3 separate regions of the Homo sapiens genome follow, and regions 1 and 3 are each linked to region 2. The links are contacts of gene promoters, found by promoter capture Hi-C in human tissues and cell types (Jung and others, 2019). All regions are on one chromosome and are shown on one strand. The core of a region is centred on a gene start or on the middle of the fragment in contact, and the rest is flanking DNA. Distances in the headings are between cores, read along the strand shown.

Evidence for each region. Contacts are between HindIII fragments. The study calls those that stand out against the background at their distance.
Region 1: a fragment that was not itself captured here is called in contact with the fragment with the promoter of TBC1D9B in region 2 in 8 of the 25 tissues and cell types used here (H1 embryonic stem cells, adrenal gland, dorsolateral prefrontal cortex and 5 more).
Region 3: a fragment that was not itself captured here is called in contact with the fragment with the promoter of TBC1D9B in region 2 in 8 of the 25 tissues and cell types used here (H1 embryonic stem cells, dorsolateral prefrontal cortex, hippocampus and 5 more).

The regions. Positions count from the first base shown.
Region 1 is chr5:179,828,952-179,831,651 of GRCh38, forward strand. The region is part of intron 5 of SQSTM1 (sequestosome 1); the gene reads left to right. Among named protein-coding and RNA genes, the nearest start is that of SQSTM1, 9.4 kb to the left of the region's middle. The HindIII fragment of the contact is 6,404 bases long and covers 1-2,700 here.
Region 2 is chr5:179,906,531-179,909,230 of GRCh38, forward strand. It overlaps TBC1D9B (TBC1 domain family member 9B), which reads right to left and starts at 1,367. Exons shown (of 21, transcript NM_015043.4): 1 at 1,174-1,367. The coding sequence starts at 1,291. RefSeq lists an enhancer at 321-1,098 and silencers at 979-1,028, 1,079-1,218, 1,229-1,288, 1,359-1,518. The HindIII fragment of the contact is 17,290 bases long and covers 1-2,700 here.
Region 3 is chr5:180,008,577-180,011,276 of GRCh38, forward strand. All of the region lies in intron 3 of RNF130 (ring finger protein 130), which reads right to left. Among named protein-coding and RNA genes, the nearest start is that of MIR340, 5.5 kb to the right of the region's middle. The HindIII fragment of the contact is 5,868 bases long and covers 1-2,700 here.

The sequences.
Region 1 (2,700 bases), core at 37-2,536, 78 kb before region 2:
GGGCATCCTGGTGAGAAGGAAGACCATCTGTTCAGGTACCAGGAAAGGCAAGAGGTGGGAGTGATCGGGGGACAGGAACAAGGGGGGAGGGTTGAAAACCTCTAGGGAGTGTCAGCTAGAGACTTCAGGGCCCACTTGGCCAGATGATGGCTCTTGCCAACAATTGAAGGAGACCTCATGTTTAATTCCAGGAGCACCTGACCCAGGGAAGCTTCAGCATGGGATACTAGAGACAGGCCAGGGTGAGGCACCAGCCTGAAACTGGGCATCCCGAATGAGCAATGGGCCCAGCAGTCAGTTCCCTGGCCAGGCAGGAGGTGGGGAGTCCCTGCTGAGGGAGGTTGAATGCCCCCAGAGAAGTGTCCTACAGCTCCTGCCTGCCAGACCCCCAGGCACCCTGCAGAGGGAAAGTTAGTGATGGCGCTGGCCCCACAGAAGGCTTCCTGTCAACCTTAGTGCTTCAGTGGGATCAGACCCCTGGGTCACCAGCCATCTGAGGAAAGCCCCCACACATGGGAGAAAAGGTCTTAAAGGGAAGAGAATGTTAATGTCCTCAGTGAGATACAAAAGAGCATTGTCTGCATGAAAAAGGAACAGGATACTAGAAAAAGGATAACAAAGGGAACAGAATAAGAAAGTTCTTAAAATTAAAAAATAGAAAAAAAACTTCAAAAGAAGGCTTAGATTCTACTATTGTCTCAAGGAGATATTCCAAAAGCAAAATAGAGATAGTTTTTTTATCTTTCCTCTCCTCCTAATGTAGGAACAAGTCTAGAAGCCCAATATAGGATGAGTAGGAATTCCAGAAAGAATAGAAAACTGAAAGGAGGAAATGAACATAGAATGCAAGATAGTTTCTTGGCACCAGGCATGGTGGCTCATGCCTGTAATCCCAACACTTTGGGAGACCAAGGCAGGCAGATGACTTGAGCTCACGAGTTTGAGACCAGCCTTGGCAACATAGGGAGACACCATCCCCCACTTCCCGTGTCTACAAACACTATGAAAATTAGCCAGGCATGGAGTTGTGTACTTATGGCCCCAGCTACGTGGGAGGCTGAGGTTGGGGATGGCTTGAGCCTGGAAGGCAGAGGGTGCAACGAGCCTGGATTGTACCACTGCACTCCATCCTGGGAGACAGAAACAGACCTTGTCTCAAACAAAACAAAACAAAACAAAACAAAAAACAAAAATGCAAGATAGTTTCTTGGCAATGAGGCCATTATCTTCTAGATTGAAAGCGGCCCTGACAATGACTGAGAAAGACCCCACAGCAAAGCTTATCATTGTCAAGTGTCAGAACCCTGAGGATAAAGAAAGAGGGGCTTCTAAAACTCTAGGTTATTGTAAATACTTGGGAATACAAAGAGCAAACAAACATGAACAGCTAGGAGACAATGGAACAACTGATGACTCCAGAAATCAGTTAAAAAGGCTTTTCGGCCTAGAATTCTTTTGTTTTTGAAACCGGGTCTCACTGTCATCTGGGCTGGAGAGCAGTGGTACAGTTGTCTTCATCTCGTGGGCTCAAGTGATCCTTCTGCTTCAGCCTCCCCAGTAGCTGGGACTACAGGCATGTGCCACTGTGCCTAGATATTTTTTTTTTTCTTTTTCTTTCCCCACCCCCGAGTCAGAGTCTCGCTGTCGCCCAGGCTGGAGTGCAGCGGCGTGATCTCAGCTCACTGCAGTTTCCACCTCCTGGGTTCAAGCAATTTTCTGCCTCAGCCTCCCGAGTAGCTGGGATTACAGGCACCCGCCACCATGCCTGGCTAATTTTTATATTTTTAGTAGAGATGGGGTTTCACCATCTTGGCCAGGCTGGTCTTGAACTCCTGACCTCATGATCTACCTGCCTTCGTCTCCCAAAGTGCTGGGATTACAGGCATGAGCCACTGTGCCCAGCCCCGTGCCCAGCTATTTTAAAATTTTTTTGTAGAGATGGGGTCTTGCCATGCTGCCCAGGCCGATTTTGAACTCCTGGGCTCAAGAGATTTCTCATGTTGTTCTCCCAAAGTGTTAGGATTACATGCATGAGTCACTGTGCCTGGTCCAGCCTAGAATTCTATACCCAGCTAAAACGATCAAGTATCAGGGCAGAACAAAGTTACTTTCTGGTATACAGTCTTAATTATTTTAACCTTGGTTTGAACCACATGAAGAGAGAAACCCAAAATGAAGCACAGAGGTATTAGGAAACGGGGGACCTAACAGGACAGAGGGTGAACGTAAAGGGGGTCACAGCATCACAGCGCAGCCTCTGCCCAGAGAGCTGCCAGTCCTGGCTGGAACAGGAGGCTGCACAGCAAGCGGCACTCTCTATGGAAAACACCAGAACCAGTGGGGTCTCTGATCCACTTCACCCTTGTAGAAAACTATGGAGATGCTGTGGGAGAACATAGGGAAAGTTAGCAAATGCAAAGAGAAGGCAGGCTGGGTGCAGTGGCTCATGCCTGTAATCCAAGCACTTTGGGAGGCCAAGGCAGGCAGATCACCTGAGGTCAGGAGTTCAAGACCAGCCTGGCCAACATGGTGAAACCCCGTCTCTACTAAAAATATAAAAATTAGCTGGGCGTGGTGGCACGTGCCTATAGTCCCAGCTACTCGGGAGGCTGAGGCAGGAGAATCACTTGAACCTGGTGGGCAGAGGCTGCAGTGAGCCGAGAGATTGCGGCACTGCGCTCCAGCCTGGGCAACAGAGCG
Region 2 (2,700 bases), core at 117-2,616:
AGAAAAGGTGCCGGTCCCTCGCTTTCTTCATCGGGCTTGCAGTAGCTTCGAGGTTAGCCACAGGGGCTGCCGACTGAACAGCTGGATCTAGGAGGCGGGTCCAGAACAGGAGCCCGAGATCCTTGAAGCCCACTGGGAGGGAACCCGAAGCTGAAGGGAACACTGAGTGTTTCTGGGAACAGAACAGTCTCTTCCACATGAAGAAACGTGGCCCAGGAGAAGCCTCCGTCTGCATCTGGCTATTAGCTGCTCACACTGAAAATCAGGATGATTCACAGAAAATGCTCTTGATAAACTGGACGACCTGGCAACACTGGGACCGCAATCCTGTAGGGCAACAGTCGGTGCCCCGAAGAGCACAGGCACTGAGCCCGAGCCAGCCGGGCTCCTGCAGTGCTGGGCGCAGGCCCTGGAGCATGAGGGGCCCCGGACACCACCTGCGGAGGGAGTGGCCTGTGGGCCTCCCCTGGATCCCACAGGCCGCACGACTCCAAGGGTGCCTGTCCAGCTTCATCCTGTGTGATGGTGGCACCCGGGCCCACAAAGGGCCACCTTGGCGAGCTTGCAGGAACACCCTGTGCCGCTACCCACAGCCTTGGGTGCGCAGCTCTGAGAGCAGCCAGGAGCAGGAAAGGTGGGGGAGGAGAAGCTGGGGGAATGGGGGTGCGGCCAGCTCCAGGGACCTCTGATCTTGCTAAAAGGGCGATACTTTGGTGAGATGGGCACGAAGAAGAGGGCAAAAGAAAACGTGCGCTGGCGTCACCTGGCCCCTTAGAGGCACCTGGGGAAACTGAGGTGGAGGATGAGGACAGGGCGGTCTCGCCAACTTTCGGCGGTGAGATCCCGGGAAGCTGCACGGCCCCCGGGGCTCGCGGGCGCCGAATCCGGGCAGAAGCCGCCGCCGGTCTCCACTTGGCCGCCCCAAGCCGACCTGAGGAGAGCCCGCCGAGGGCGCATTCGCCTCCCGCCAGCCCCTCGCCTCCCCGCCCCGGCCCCTCCGCGCCCGGCTCCCGGGTCCTGGCCTCGCGCCCCCGCCCCGCCGCGCGCTGGCGTGCGTGTCCGCCGCGACGCGCCGAGGCCGGGCCGGAACCGGACCCGCCCGCCGCCCGCCGCCAGCCCCGCCGCCAGCCCAGCCGCGGCGCCCACAGGCCCGGCCGCCCGCGCGCCTCTCACCCGTAAGGCCGCCGCCCCTGCCGTGGCCCCGGCGTCGCTGCAGCACGAAGAAGGGGTTGGCCCGCTCCGTCACCCACAGCGCATTGGCCACCAGCACCTCCTCCGGGCTCAGCCACATCGCGGAGCCGCTCGCACCGGGCCGAGGCCCGCGAGACGGAAGCGCCCGCCGCCGTCGGCGTCCCGGAGCGGAGCGTGCGGAGCGGAGCGTGCGGAGCGGGCCGGGGCGGGGCGGGGCCGGGCGGGCGGCGCCCCCTGGCGGGCGTGTGGCGCTCCCGCACGCGGCCCGAGTTCCGCGCCGCCCCCTCAGCCCCGGCCTCGGGCGCGCGCCAGCCTGGCCTCCTGGAGCGGTGCAGCCCACGGCCTCCGGCCTGGGTCCAGAACGGAACGGCCCAGTCCGCAGACAGGGGAGCCGCTGTGCAGAGCAGGGCTTCTGGCGTTTTGAAAGCTGTGCAGTGTGAGAGAAGGATGTCAAGAAGCAGAGTTTGGCGGCTTTTGGCTGGTTGCGCGTGCAACCCGGGGCGTGTTAGCACTGCAAAGGGCGCCTGGAAAGGGTTTGCAGTTCCTCCTAATTCTCAGCTTTCTTTTCTTTTTTTTTTTTCGACAGAGTCTTGCTGTGTCGCCCAGGCTGGAGTGCAGTGGCGCAATCTCAGCTCACTGCAACCTCTGCCTCCCGGGTTCAAGTGATTCTCCTGCCCCAGCCTCTTTAGCTGGGATTACAGGCTCCCGCCAACACGCCCGGCTAATTTTTTTGTATTTTTAGTAGAGACGGGGTTTCACCATGTTGGCCAGGCTGGTCTCGAACTCCTGACCTCGGGTGATCCGCCTACATTGGCCTCCCAAGTCCTGGGATTACAGGAGTGAACCATCGCGCCCGGCCAGTTCTCAGAATTCTGACACTGGGGCCGGGAGACTAGAAGAATCTTCCAGCGCAGGGCAGGTGCCAGGAGGCCCTGATACGGGCTGCATCCTTGGAAATCAGTGCTGCCCCTCCCCTGACAGACGGGTCACAGAGGCTGGCCGGCCCTGGGGATGGGGTCTGGACTGGCCCTGGGCCCAGTGGCGGCTTCTGCGCAAGTGTGAGGCTGGCTGCAGGCGAATGCGGGTCCCTGGTCTCCCAGTGTTGGCCTGCAGGGGCAGCGCCAGTCCACACACAGCCTTCTGCATGAGGGGGCTGTCAACTCCACCTGGGACAACGGGCCTGGGGCCTGTCCGGGGTCGACTGGGATGTGGGGTCACCCTGCTGGCTGGAACCCTCACCAGGGTCTGGCTAGAGGGCAAAGGGAAGGGGGCAGTTAAACCATCCTTGGAGCTGGACCTGACTTCCAGGTGGGTTTCTGTGATTGGCACTCAAGAATCTTGGTGCGATGGATGTAGGTACATGCAGTTGACACCCAGAGTGATCTGCAGTCTTCTTCAATGTTGCTGGATATAGGAATCAGCTTTCAAGATGCAGAGGCGGGCTTTCTTCAACACCTTGGAAGTCTGAACTAATATTGTCATTGTGCTCTCTAGAGGGAAAGAATTTGG
Region 3 (2,700 bases), core at 156-2,655, 100 kb after region 2:
TAACACTAAGATAATAGTAAAATCTTGGCAGGACACAGTGGCTCATGTCTGTAATCCCAGCACTTTGGGAGGCTGAGGTGCACAGATCGCTTGAGGTCAGGAGTTCAAGACCAGCCTGGGCAACACAGTGAAACCTCATCTCTACCAAAAAATACAAGTTAGCCGGACACGGTGGCATGCGCCTGTAATCGCAGCTACTCGGGAGGCAGAGGTCAGAGAATCACTTGAACCCGGGAGGTGGAGGTTGCAGTGAGCTGAGATCGTATCACTGCACTCCAGCCTGGGTGACAGAGTAAGACCCTCTCTCAAAAGGAAAAAAAAAAAAGTAAAATATCTAAACTACTGGAAATTCAATAACATACTTCTCAGTAATGTATGGGTAAAAGAAGAAGTCTCAAAAGAAAAAAATACATAGGACTGAATGAAAATGAAAATACAGCATATCAAAATATGTGAGGCATAGCCTTAAAGAAGTGCTGAGAGAGAAATTTATAGCACTTAATTCTTACATTAGAAAACAGGAAAGCCTTCAAATAAACTAATCACAGACTTAAATGTAAAACATAATATAAAACTTCCAGGAAAAATAGTAGAAAATCTTTGGGATATCTAGGGATAAGTAAAGAATTTTTAGACTTGACACCAAAAGCACAATTCATAAAAGAAAAAATTAATAAACCATAAAAATTAGAAATTTTTGCTTTTCAAAGACCTTGTTAAGAGGTTGAACAAAACAAAATACAGACTGGGAGATAATCTCTGCAAGCCACATATTTGACGAAGGACTTGTATCTGGAATACATAAAAAGCTCTCAAAATTCAACAGTGAAAAACAATCTAGGTAGAAAATGGGCAAAAGACATGAATGGATATTTCACTGAAGAGGATATACGGATGGCAAACAAGCACATAAAAAATGTCTAATTAGAGAAATGCAAACTAAAACCACAAGAGATGTTACTACACAACTCAACAATCACAAGAGATGAAAACACCAAGTGCTGTCGAGAGTGTGGAGGAACTGGATCAGTCATACATTTCTAGCAGGAATGCAAAATGGTATGGCCACTTTGCAAAATGAGTCTAACAGTTTCCTACAGAACTAAATATGCACTTATCTTAACAGCCCAAAAACTTCACTCTTGGAATTTACACTGAACTCAGAAATTACACATTTATCCCAGGGAAACGAAAACTCATGTTTACACCAAAACCTGTATGTGATTGTTCACAGCTGCTTTATTTGTAATAGCCAAAATCTGAAAACATCCCAGATATCCTTCAATGAGCGAGCAATTAAACAAACGGTGGTACATCCAAACCATGGGATATAGTTCGGCCATAAAAAGGAATAAATGACTGATACACATAACAACTTGAAAGTATCTTGGCCGGGCGCAGTGGCTCACGCCTGTAATCCCAGCACTTTGGGAGGCTGAGGTGGGCGGATCACAAGGTCAGGAGATCGAGACCATCCTGGCTAACACGGTGAAACCCCATCTCTACTAAAAATACAAAAAATTAGCCAGGCACGGTGGCAGGCACCTGTAGTCCCAGCTACTCCGGAGGCTGAGGCAGGAGAATGGCGTGAACCTGGGAGGCGGAGCTTGCAGTAAGCTGAGATCCAGCCGCTGCACTCCAGCCTCGGCGACAGTGAGACTACATCTCAAAAAAAAAAAAAAAAAAAAAAAAAAAAGTATCTCAAGGTAATTATGCTGAGTGAGGAAGTGAAGAATTCCAAACTCTAGAGGTTACATACTATATGATTCCACCTATATAACATTTTTTTCTTTATTTTTTTGAAACAGAGTCTCACTCTGTCACCCAGGCTGGAGTGCAGTGGTACGATCATGGCTCACTGCAGCCTCTGCCTCCCAAGTTCAAGCAATTCTCGTGCTTCAGCCTCCTGAATGGATGGGACTACAGGCGCATGGCACCTTGCCCAGCTACATTTTTGTATTTTTAGTGGAGATGGGGTTTGCCATGTTGGCCAGGCTGGTCTTGAACTCCTGACCTCAAGTGATCCACCTGCCTTGGCTTCCCAAAGTGCCGGGATTACAGGTGTGAGCCACCGTGCCTGGCCCATGATTCCACCTATTTAACATTCTTGAAATGACAAAACTATAGAGATGAGAAACAGATTCCTGGTAGATTAGGGAAGGGGGAAGGAGGGAGGTGGCTGTGGTTATAAAAGAGTAGCACAAGGGTTCCTTGTGATGGAACTGGTCTGTATCCTGACCGTGTTGTTGGTCATGTGAATCTACACATGCGATAAAACTACACAGACTAAAGACAGACACACACATACACAAATAAGTACACATTAAACTGGAGAGGTGGGGAGATTTCAGTGTATTTAGGAAGATCAGTGGATTGCATCCATGCCAATTTCCAGGTTATGATACTGACCACAGTTATACATGTTGTTACCACAAGGAGAAATGAGTGAAGGGGATAAGAGACATCTTTGTATTTGTATTATCTCTTACAAATGCAAGCAAATCTACATTTTCACAAAACGCATATAACCTGAAACTAATCACGAAGGAACACAACACGTCGGATAAACTCAAATACAAAATAATTGATCTGTACTTTTCAGAAACGTCCATGTCATAAAACCAAGTAAGAAGAGACAACTGAATGCAAAATCCAATGAGCTCCAATCAATCCAGGATTTTCTTTGCTATAAAGGTCATT